Regions from separate parts of the Homo sapiens genome. Here regions 1 and 3 are each linked to region 2. Evidence: promoter capture Hi-C in 16 types of primary human blood cells and fetal thymus (Javierre and others, 2016). All regions are on one chromosome and are shown on one strand. The core of a region is centred on a gene start or on the middle of the fragment in contact, and the rest is flanking DNA. Distances in the headings are between cores, read along the strand shown.

Region 1 (3,878 bases), core at 792-3,291, 230 kb after region 2:
AACACCTTTAATTCAGAAAGCATTATGTCTATTCTAAAAGTGTTTATATGGATTAAATAGACATAAACAATTGGCAGAGGAAAAAACATAGTACTCACTAACAATAGTATTTGTAGAAATTTTGAAGCCATGGTTAAAAAAAGAGAAATTTGAGGGACAATGTAAATACATGCAGTAATAATGCTTTCTTAGCAAAATTCGCATCTTTAGTCTCCTGTCACCTTATTGCTTTGTAAAGAAACATCTTGATCCCAGTCATAAAAGTCATTTAGACTTATAAACTCATTAATGTTTACTAGCAGTTGCAATCTGATTTCTTCTCCTAAACTACTTTAAAAATAGTCTAAGGAAAAAAGCTTTTAAAAACCAACATCAGCTTTATCTCTTACACCTCACGTAATACTTACAAATCTTATTAATAAAGCACTCAGGACAATCTGATACACTACAAAATTTAAAATAATACAGAATTGTTTCAAATAATAATTGCATCCTTCTATAAAATTTGCCTTAGAATAGTTTTAATTTTTATTATAAATGCAGCCATAGTTGTTGATCTTTAAGCAATCTTGACTCTCTTTGTTTTTGCCACTTTATAAAATGTAGACAAATCTGATAGCCAAGGTAAATACCAGAATTAGGGTAAAGCAAAGATAGTTTTGTTTTTTTGTACTTTACATCCTCCAGATTGTCAAACAGGCAACATACACACATTCAATTTCAGAAGAATGAGAGAGAGAAGTAACAAAAGAAAAAAAACTCCAGACCCAATGATTATTACTCCAAGAATATAGATCTTTGTCTAAGCAATCTTCTTCAGAATATTAGTAGTTATAGAACTCTCAGTATATTTTTATCATCTTCACAAAGTTATTTTTCTGTAAACTAAAGGTTTGCCTAAATTGAGATAAGCTCCTTTAAATTTTAATTTATTTTTTAGTTGGGTATGAGCATTTACAGTGACAGAAGAAGTTCTGGTTTTGGCAACTTTGGAAGTAGCTCCCCAACTTTGGGACATGTACGTGTTGTCTGTATGATGACTCAGCTGTGGTCTGGTGCTATTATCACATAATGTTCTATCTTTGAATATTGGAAACAAGAAATTTGCAACAGCTCAACCTAGCAAATTTCTTCTGATTTTGTTTTCATCTTTCCTTTCAACAAAAATTAACTTAAATTTCCTAAAACAGCCTTCAGGTCTTTTTTTAATCTTGATCATCTACTAAGGCTCTTGGGCCCTGGGAATGTCTGAGAAGGTGCACTCAGTAATTCATGTGTAGGAATAGTTGAAAAAGTTATCTTCAGGCCTTTCGGGAGTTCTGTAGTTGGATGTAGGTGACAGCTTTATCAACTACAGTATTCAGTGAACATCAGGGAAGCTTAAAACCCCTGATTATAGCTGCTTTTTTAACGGCTTCGTTTTTCTTCTGTACTCCAGAAAGAAATGATTCTACTCACAGAATTTTACAGTTGTGTGTGGTTTTTTTGGTTGCTTTAATGCTTTGTATTATTTTGTTTTTACTAAGAAGTTTTTACATGTAAAGCAAGTGTAATTGTATTTACATTGAACTTTGAAAGATTTTCTTCCTCATAATGTAAAGAAAAGGTAAATAAGATCAACTGCATACCTATGCTATTATTTTGCTATGTAGTTTATTATGACGGCCCATGCTGCTTTCATATTATTTGAATTTTATTGCCCCTGCTTTCTCTAGGACTTTATTAACTTTGATATAGTGCATCTATACTCATCCATGTAAATGATTTTGAAGAACAAAACAATTGACAGATTTTGCTTTACAATATCTGTGATTTTTGTTTCATACCTTTGTCCATCTTTCAATCTTTGTAAACAGACCTAGTTCTTTATTGCGTAGACCTTATAATCCCTTAATACCCTGATTCTAAACTGAATGAGCTTTAAAAGTGCCTGTTAAACAAATAGTATAAAGGATACAATAATTTAAAATTTCTTTACAGTTACAAGTTTTTAGGTGATGGAAGTAGAATTCCTAAAATATAGATTACTCTTGTGTCATTTTCCCCCTAATCTTTAAGTGTTATCTTCTTATAAATGAAACCACGGGGGTTTTTCTTGTGATTATAGTATTTCATTATTTGAGTATGTAAACATGATGATGATGGTGTTACAGAATTAACAGTAGCAGAGGAATCGCTCTGAGTCAAAAACAGCCTTCATCATGATCAATAGCACAATTGTTTTATGTCTGTAAGGCATTTCTCATAGGACTATATTTGGTCATCCTGGTAGCTTTTGGAAACACATGTTTTGTCTCACAGTATTTGTAGACCACTGTTGGTGGTGGGGTGAGCATCATCAACACTATCTTAACCCATACCCTTCCAGCCTCATCAAATTAGAAGTGAATGATTGGCAGTGGAGAGAGGTTTTCAGTGAAACCATTCTTGATAATGTAGGGCTGGAAAAATTCACAGGTACGTTACCATGGTAACAGTGTTTTCATCGTGATGACCTGATTTACTAAGAAAAAGTCTTCAAATAAGTCTATGACATGATTAAATAAGAGATTTAAGGAAAGGGAAAAGACAAAAACAAAACACCTGAAAGACATTCCAGTCAAGCCCAGTGCTTCTATAATAGACGCCCCAAGGTATGGTGAGAATTATTTCTGATTCAACACTTTCATTCCCTCACCTGTTAAAGTAGTAAACCTTTAAAAGAAAGCTTTTAAATTAAAATTTTCAGCTACTTGGGAGGCTGAGGCGGGACCATCGCTTAAAGCCAGGAATTTGAGATAAGCCTGGGAAACATAACAAAACCCCATCTCTAAAAAAAAAAAAAAGGCAAAATTAGCTGGGCGTGGCATGTAGTTACAGCTATATGGGAGGATCCCTTGAGTTCAGGGGTTCGAGACTGCAGTGAGCTATGATCACGCCACTGCACTTCAGCCTGGATGACAGGGCAAGACTCTGTCTCTAAAAACAAAAATAATAATAGTAGTTATAAAAATATGTTTTAAATAACTTAAAACTTTATATAACAGCCTGTTTCTTAAATACCATGCAAATAATTTCGGAGAAAGTAAGTTATGGTAATTTTTATAAATGACTTCACATTTACAATGCTGGTGTTTTTATTGGTTAAATTAGATTTCTCAATAGCTATTTTTAAAAACTGCAATAGGAAGGACTGTCTATTGTATTTTTTAGAAACAAGCTGGTTTCTACAATATTATTCACGTTTTTTAAACAGCATCATTGAACCTGCACATAAAAGGTTAAATGTTTGCAGACCATTCTTTTTTGCCTCAAAGATCAGAGACAAATTACTATTTTTATTTTACATTTCCTTGATGAGGATAATGATAAACAGCTGTCATTTCAGTGCTTCAACTGCAAAGAACCTTATTGCAATCCTATAATTTAAACAAAGAAAAAATATAGTCATACACAATATACATACAGAAAAGAGCACAATGGAGAATTTGGTTAGAACTGGGGTTAGAGAAAAGGAAGTGTTGCTCTCTGCAATTACTCACGTAAAAGAAAAATTCCATTTATATGCATTTTTCCCGTTCATCTTAGACATTGGTAGAAGGGGCAGTTTACTGCTTCTTTTTTTCTAAAATGAGGAAATAAATCAAATTTGCATACTGAACTCTGTGACTCCCCATCATGTCCACTGTATTATCAGAATAGTTAAGATTTGCATGTCACTACATGTCTGCAAGTATTTCCAAAAGCTAAGAAGAATTTCAAATTGTTTTACTGATTATTTACTAAAGCCTCTCAATTTTTTTTAATGCTAAGAATTAAACCAGAGTTCTCTATTCACTCTGACACTTTGTTTTCTAATTGCATCTGGTTTCAAAAAGTGAAAGTCAGTGTCTTTTGCT
Region 2 (4,043 bases), core at 373-2,872:
ATGTATAACTTAGAAAAGAATTTGTTCAGGAACCACTGTAACTTTAAAGGAGGACAAAAGAGATTATGTTTATTTTTCACAAACCCTGTAGAAGAGATGTTTTCATTATATAGAATTGTTTCGGAATAGAAATTAATGGGGGTTAAGAAAATTAGGGATGAGGCAATAACATTTTTCCAGAACTTTCTTTAAGGGGCCGACCTCTAAAGTTCAGCACAGATCACATTGCAATCCAGACTTGCTCTATTATTTTCTCTATTAGGATTTCATTCAGCTTGAGGGTTTTCTTCCCTCCCACCTTCCTCCCCCTCTCCCACCCTCTTTCACCTCCAGGACAGCTGGAAACTGACCAAAGAAAACTTCTGCCTTCGTTTACAAATTCCTTTTTTATCAGTGGGTTTCTAGACAAAGTGCCTTATTTTAAATGCTCAGAGAAGTGGAAGCATTGTAAGCTATAGGCAAGAGGGCTCAGCTGAGCAGCAATTATTAACCACTCTTTGATTTAAAAAAAATGTAAAACAGATATTTACAGGGGTATCTAAAGATAGAGGTTTTTATTCCCTGATTTACTCAGTTGCTGACTCAATAAGTTGTGGGTCGGTGCTCTTCTCTGGGCAAATCCCATCTGCATTGTCTGGTAGGCAAGACTTGGCAGGTTCTTCTTTTATTGTTAGGTACTATTATTCCTGTTGTTTATATTACAGAAGGAAATCTTCAGAAAAGCACTATCCATATAGCATTTAAAAACCAGCAAGTATTCTTTACTTTGGGGAAAAATGACTTCAGTCCTGGGATGTTAAAAGTTATACATACAGCCTTCATCCATATAAGTTTTTAAATCTTTGAATTATTATTAAACAATTCAAAAGTAGCCTCATTAAACTATTCTTAAGTGTCTGGAATGAGTTTTTTCATATTTCATTTTGAAGTGGGAAAACCTTTAAGAAAACACTTGAATTATCAATCTTCAGAAATAAAAAAAAAAAAAACAGTAAATCGCTATATACCACACACTTTTGCTCTTTTAAAATTAAATACATCTCTACCCATCACACATGTACCTCTGTTTCCCTTGCATGTTAACACAAATCATGGGCTCCCCACCTAGGTTCCCTTGGTCACAGACCAGGTGAGCAGTCAAGAAGGCCTTACCCGCTGGTCTTCCCTTCGGCAGTCTTTTCTCAGCAGTGTCCCCGAGGGCTTCTTGGTCCCTAGTGTGCAAAACCTGTGAAGAAAAACACTGGATATGAGATTCAAAAAAGGAGCAAACAAATGTCTTCTCCTTGGAAACAGCCCATTTTGTCCCCAGCGGTCCATGGCGTTGCTCTCCCTTGCCCAGTCTAACCAATGTGCAGACTACTGTACAACGGCATTGTCCTGAACAGGTAGTCTGAACACTGGGGCGACGGAGCAGGATCTCCAGAAGCTTCCTTCTATGTACTTAAAATCCTCTCCCGGTCCTCAGGAAAAGCCTCCCTTCCTGCACCAGGGGTTGCATTCAGCTTTCCCCCCTGAATTCTGCTGCGCTGACTGAGACACACTCAAGGGCTGTGATTTCCAGTCTTGACGTGGCACATTTGCTGCAGACTGGGGAACTGGCAATGAATTTAGGACCAGGAAAAGGGGGAGGGCTGGGCTGGAGAGTCCATATATGGGATGATGTCACCCTGGGGAGGTTTGGGTATGCGCTGTGCCGCTGGAGAGACCGCTAGAATCGCCTGCTCTCAGACATGGGTCTGTGCATAAAATGGTACCAGATGTTTTAGTGTAACGTTAAGCAGTCATTTCATCTTCAGGCCAGATTTTTTTCCTCAACTGGGCAGGAAGTGGGCCCCAGTATGGAAAAGCTGTAAAAAAAAAAGAGTCAAGATGTACAGTTCGGCTGTGGCCAACTGAAAGTGAGTTAGTGTAGAAGTACAAATTTACTGTCTGACCCAGGCTAGAGAAGTAATTTGAAGATAGAGGGTAGATGAAATAGTAAACAGAAAGTTGAACACTGGAAGGCAGAGCTCATTTGGAAACCTTTTTGAGCTTTCCTGTGGCACTTTATTTTCTGGTATTTCACTCGTCAAAAAGGGCAGATAAGTTTCTGTCTGTCTGTCTGTCTGTCTGTCTCTCTCTCTCTCTCTCTCTCCCCCTCTTCCCCTCTCCCTCCCTCTCTCTCCCTCCCTCCCTCCTTCCCTCCCGCTCTCTCTCTCTTTCTCTCCTTCTCTCTCTCCCTCCTTCTCCTGTCTGTTGAATCTGTCAGCAGCTTGCAGGCTGCTCTAGACTTGAACAGTAATTATAGCAACTTCCTGAAAGTGAAGCCCCCATGAAAAGTCTGGAGAAATGTTCTTTGTCATGGCCTCTACATGAGTAATTAGTTCCACATGTGGCCTTCCTAGTTTCCCTCAGCTATTTTGGCTGGGTCTCTGAATGCTGTGCTATAGTTTGACCTAAAGAAACGTTACAGTTTTTGTTTGAAGCATCCACTACGAAACAACGACTCAGGTCTTCTAACAAATCGCCTCTGGTAGATCCATGCTGTTAGGTATAGCATTGTTTTTCACTTGTAATTCCTGATTCTGTTTTGATACTTTTGTTTTGTTTTCATGGTATTCTGTGGCTTAGTTTTATCTCTGGTTAACTAAATCTGTTGAAATTTGCCAAGTACCGCTTGACCAAAGGTTATAAGATATCAGCCCACTGGCATCTACTTTTCTTTCCCTGTTGTGGCTGTTTTCAATTATATATACTCTTGAATATTCTGAATATGTAGTTCTCTCACTTTCCCTCCATAGGATTCTGATCAAAGCTAGAGTCGCCTCAAACAAGAGCTTGATTAATTGCCCTTCTGAAGATCAAAATGTGAGAAAATTTCTAGGTAGCTTCCAAATTTAATTTGACCAACCAGACTAAGAAACTTAGCCTTCTTTAAAGAAAGTACAGCCAAAGCAATTCATTTCCACTGGCCTTCTGAAATACTTTTTAGAAGTAGAAAAATATATCTCTTTTTTATACGCTGCATTGTATATTTCAAAAAGCTTCAAGTGAGTACTGTCCTAAAGCATTTGCTTTTCATAAAATGGCCTCTTTTGAATCATTAAATAGCACACTACTGAAGAGTTCAAAAGTTATGACAAGCCCTTGTTATCTTGTGAGGAAGATTAAATAAGATAAACATGAATTATCTGGCATCTTAGGATGGAACAGAGGTTAGCACTGGGTACACCATTCATAGAAATATTTATATCATCAATAGGAGTCAGAGGAATGACTTTATATCTCTGTACTTTTGCTTCCATATTTGTGTCTTTAGGACCTATTCAATAGTGCTTGCACAAGCCCATAAGACTCACCTCCCTTTTTTCCCTGTCACTGCTTGCATATTACTGGAAATGATCTAAGTGTGACTAAATACAATCTAATACTTGTATTATATGTGGATACCAACTCCATTCTTTTCAAAGTATCTGTGTGTTTACTCACATGAAGTCCTCATAGAGGAGCCATAAACCACTGAACCAGTAGTCAGCCAGTATTCCAGGTGTAGACCTGCTTCTGCCACAGAAAGTGAAAGCCTTTTTTTCTGCCCACTTTCATTTATGTCCATAAGACATGCCTTGGAAATTTTTGTCAAGGCAAACAAAAGGTGGTTTTGATCAGACTGCACCATGATTTCACCTTAGTCTGTACATCTATATGCCCTCAAATGGTTCTACTACCTACACCAAATAGAATCTTACAATATTTCCATCAAGTGACTTAACTTTATACTAATCATTATGACTCGTGAAACATTTTAAGGAATTTTCTCCAGAGACAGCTATAGAAATTGAGTTCCCCTTAGAATATATGTCCATCTCCTTGAGTTTCCAGTTAACTGAAGTGTTTGTGGGTGCTCTTGCCTCCAAATAGTTCAACGAATATTTATTCTTGCCTACTCACCTGCTAGTCACAATACCAGCAACTGGGCATACAAAGATTAAGACCTGACTCCTGCCCTCAAAAAGCTCACACTTACATAAAAAGTTAGGAATACACATCTGTTACCAAGTGCAGTT
Region 3 (4,339 bases), core at 356-2,855, 150 kb after region 2:
AAAAAATAAGCACTGTCCAAGTTTATTCCATTGTGTTTTCATTCATTTATTTGTCCATTTTCTTATTCATTCAACAAGTGTTTGTTTTATGGAGGCTATAAACCAAGGATTGGGGTAGACCCAGATTATGCCACTTATTAGTTATGTGATCTTGGGAACACCCTTTAATATCTCTGAATTTCAGTTTCCTCATCTGTGAAACAGCTTTACTACCAACTTTACAGGATTGCTATAAAGAGTAAATGAGATTATTTATCTTTTAAAATGGTAAAAAGTTAGGCCAGGTGCAGTGGCTCAAACCTGTAATCCCAGCACTTTGGAAGGCCAACACAGGAGGATCGTTTGAGCTCACAAGTTCGAGACCAGCCTAGACAATCTGGCGAAACCCCATTTCTACAAAAAATACCAAAATTAGCCAGGCTGGGACTGCAAGGCTGTAGTCCCGGCTACTTGGGAAGCTGAGGTGGAAGGATGGTTTGAGCCTGAAAGGTGGAGGTGGCAGTGAGCCAAGATCGCGCCACTGCACTACAGCCTGGGCAACAGAGCCAGACTTTGTCTCAAAAAAAAAAAAAAAAAAAGTAAAAAGTTATAAGTTTCACTTTCCCCCTTCTCTATTTATTATTTATTACTATACCCCAAAAGTCATACACAACAAAGATGGAAATCCTCAAAGACACAGAAAAGTAGAGATGTCAGTCAACGTTTGCAAGACTCATAGATTGAACTGGATTGAAAATCTATCAGTGACCAGTGAATGCTTTGCCCTGATTAAGAAAAATGAGGCCAAACAAGAAGACAACCCAAAGAAGCCTCTATGTTTCTTCACTACATCAACTTGAGAAACGTGGGCACTGTGACAACCAGAAATCCAGAGAGGCAACTTTGAACTATAAGGCCAACTCAAAAAACGAATCCAAGTAAGAATTTACAACGGGGAAGTCCAGGTAGAAGATGCCTGATGGTAAATATTTATTCAAGATAAACATGTAGAGTTCCATCTAATAAATGCTTAAATATAACAAAACTGAATACAATTAAAAGAAGGAAAAGATGTGAAAAAATTCAGAAATAATATGTCAGTATTTCTAGATAGATTAGCAAATGTCATGAAGAAAGCAGCAGAAAGTAAAAGCTTCTAAATTCTTCAAGAAGTCAGAGATTATTTTTGTATTCCTGAATTGTATGTGTATATATAAAATATACGTATATATATACAAAAGTGAATTCAAGAATGATTTTAAAAACTGAAAGATAACTGCTGAAAAATATAGAAGCCAAAAAGCCAGCTTATTTGTTAACAAAACAAAAGAAACAGTCAGCATTTAAAAACAGCAAATTGTATCTCAAAATGATAAAACTAAGGCTAAGCACACAGTCATGGCAAGATATAAACATGATTGAAACTTTCCTAATCAAAAATGATGATTTTCTGATTGAGATTAAAACCAAAACCCAATTATACTGTTGACATTTATAATAGGACTTTTAAAAAGTAAAACAAATGGAAAAAAATGTAAAAATAAAAGAAGAAACAAAGATAGGTCAGGCAAATGCAAAGAATAAGTGAAAAGACTTTGAAATACTATACAAAAATATTGTATTATATTTTTGTAATGAAATCAGAACAAAGAACTTCATTTCTATAAACATACTAAAATACTCAAAGTCCTTAGCAAGCAACCATTGATGGAGAATCACTTTTAAGTTATAAAATTAGCAAACATACTTTAAAGATGACAGTCAATATTTATGCGTATGAGATTCATTACTCAATAAATATCTATGGAATACCTACTAGTGCTGGTCACTTTGTGAGACCTTGGGGTACAGTGTAATCAAATCAAGTCATCCAAATATCCCTTTTAATTTATTAGAGGGGTTGGAGCAGAGCCACAGGGCAACATTCAGTTCACTGCCAAGATGATGCCAGCATTCAGACAAGTCTCTCCACCAAAGCACTAGTTGTGTGATTCCTTCTGGACCCCTTGGCAGATGATTTTGATTGCAGGCTCAAAGGCCAAATGGTCTGTAGCCAAGGCCCTTGGGGGACTGGGTCATTTCCAGGTTTGAACCTGGGAGCAAGCTTGGTGGATCAGCCACCTCAGTGTCATTCGATACTCTCAAAACAACCCTCCTATGTCTAGGGCTTCATCAGTGTTTCACAAACTCCTACCTGAATCCTGAGGCTCCCAGAAAGAGACTTCTGACTATACAGGGATGTGGAATTCTTGTTGCTGTAGGGGAATATTAGCAGGTGACCTTCTTTTCCACCATCCTGGTGATGTCACACCTCCCTTTCCAATTATAAGGGTTTGTTTCGTGCTATTCAATAAGATATTATCATTTCCTTAATTTAAAAAAATTCATTTCTATGTATTTTAAAGGCTCTGCTCCTAATGTGAATGGAGTCTTTTCCCATTTCCTAAGTTATTTGTAGTACTGAGAAAAGCAATTGATTTGTATATTTTCATCTTGCAGTTAATGTTAGCCTTTTAAACATAGCATCTTGGCCGGGCACAGTGGCTCACGCCTGTAATCCTAGCACTTTGGGAGGCCAAGGCGGACTGATCACCTGAGGTCAGGAGTTCGAGACTAGCCTGGCCAACAATGTGAAATCCCATCTAGACTAAAGATGCAAAACTCAGCTGGGCCTTGTGGCATGTTCCTGTAATCACAGCTACTTGGGAGGCTGAGGCAGGAGAATCGCTTGAACCTGGGAGGCGGAGGCTCCAGTGAGCCAAGATCATGCCACTGCACTCCAGCCGGGGCAACAGAGCAAAACTCCATCTCAAAAAAAAAAAAAAAAAATAGCATCTTATTAATTTTGGTAGTGTTTTGTTAAATACTAACACTTGGATTTTTCAATTCTTCTTGAGTTAATTTTGGTAATTTGTATTTTTAAAGGTATTGTTAATTTATTCTAGATTCTTAATTTTTTGCCATAGGGTTGCATATAATATTTTAATTTTTTCAACCTCTTCTATATTTGTGGTCATTATCCTATTGTTTCTCATTTGCAATCTTGTATACTTTTGTTTTCTCCCATTTCCCCCCTTAATTAGGATTGTAAGTGTATTATCTACTGGTAAAGGGAAAATACTTGTGGATGTCCTTAACCTCTGTTATTTTTATATTTCCTATTTCCTTAATTTTGGCCTTAATCTGTGTTAATTCTCTTTGTTGGTTTATTTTATTTTTTAAAAATCATTTTATAATTTATCTAGATGAATACCAACCTTCTTTTCTAAATGATGAGCATATTTAAGGTTATACATTTTCCTACAGCCTTTGCTCCTTTGGATATGAAGCGTTTATATCTTTATTGCTTTCTAAATAATTTTTACTTTTGGTTTCTTCTGTCATACAAGGTTTATCTGGGAGTATGTTTCTCACATTTTTCTTTTATACTTTTTTATTAGAACTTCATATGCCTCAGTTGTATCTTTTCTCATTAATTCCACCTGATTGTACTTTTGATGTACATATTTGTGTCTTTCTAAATCTCAGGGAAAGCTTCTTTTTAAAAAAATATGTCTTTTATAATTGTTTTTCTCCTTCTATCTTCCTTTTCTTTTTTTCTGGAACTCCTCTTGTTCACAAGTTAGACATTCTGGGTCTTTCCTCCACACCCTCATCATTTCTGTCCTTTTATATTTTTCCACTTCTATTAGATCTTCAAAGCTGCTAATTCTAGTCTCAACAATGATCAGCCTTTCTTGCTATTTATCTACTTAATTTTTTTAATTTAAAAATCTGACTTTTTAGTTCTAGGAAGTCTTTTTTAATGCTGTTCGTGTGCCTCTTCAAGTCCTTATTTTCTTCTGTCTTCTGCTTTCCCCAAAGGTTCTCCTTCATTGATGGACTGCTGTGATTGCTTTCCTCATTCTTTCCCTCTCTGACTGTTAGCTTCTTTAGGTATCCTTTCATTTTCATTTGTTCTTCATGGCACAAGTCCAACTGCTGGACGCTTTAAGTGGGCTGGTCCCACAAGTGTGGGAAGGCACAGATGTCTCAGTTGTCATGGGCCAGTAATAGGCACTGCTATGGGAGACTCAGGGGAGCCTTCTGCATTAGAGTAGAAAAACTTAGCCCCTCCACACCTTCTTAGGACCAGAGAGTCAGGCCCACTTAAAGGTCCTGCAGTCATCAAAGACAGCTCGACCAAGAATCTGATGTTTGCTGGTTCTTGTCCTAAAGCTAGAAAGTGCCACAACAGATGTCTTGCTCACACCCTGTCTACCTGAGTACCACTCCCAATATCTGCTTGACTTGAGAAAAGAGGACCTGTTTGAACTGAGTAAGAAGTGGAGAGGAAATGGAACACTCCTAAGCCATCATC

What was found. The method cuts DNA at HindIII sites, captures the fragments that hold promoters and counts their contacts. A CHiCAGO score of 5 or more calls a contact.
Region 1: a fragment that was not itself captured here is called in contact with the fragment with the promoter of DNM3OS in region 2 in 11 of 17 cell types (naive B cells, total B cells, endothelial precursors and 8 more); the score reaches 16.2 in naive B cells.
Region 3: a contact is called between a fragment that was not itself captured here and the fragment with the promoter of DNM3OS in region 2, in 1 of 17 cell types (naive B cells). The highest score is 5.5, in naive B cells.

The regions. Positions count from the first base shown.
Region 1 is chr1:172,373,033-172,376,910 of GRCh38, forward strand. All of the region lies in intron 17 of DNM3 (dynamin 3), which reads left to right. Among named protein-coding and RNA genes, the nearest start is that of C1orf105, 46 kb to the right of the region's middle. The HindIII fragment of the contact is 1,328 bases long and covers 1,378-2,705 here.
Region 2 is chr1:172,143,213-172,147,255 of GRCh38, forward strand. DNM3OS (DNM3 opposite strand/antisense RNA) reads right to left here and starts at 1,623. Exons shown (of 4, transcript NR_103486.1): 1 at 1,442-1,623; 2 at 1,153-1,225. The region is part of intron 14 of DNM3 (dynamin 3); the gene reads left to right. It overlaps MIR199A2 (microRNA 199a-2), which reads right to left and starts at 1,432; the gene lies at 1,323-1,432. The HindIII fragment of the contact is 1,597 bases long and covers 1,425-3,021 here.
Region 3 is chr1:172,294,353-172,298,691 of GRCh38, forward strand. The region is part of intron 15 of DNM3 (dynamin 3); the gene reads left to right. Among named protein-coding and RNA genes, the nearest start is that of C1orf105, 120 kb to the right of the region's middle. The HindIII fragment of the contact is 951 bases long and covers 1,131-2,081 here.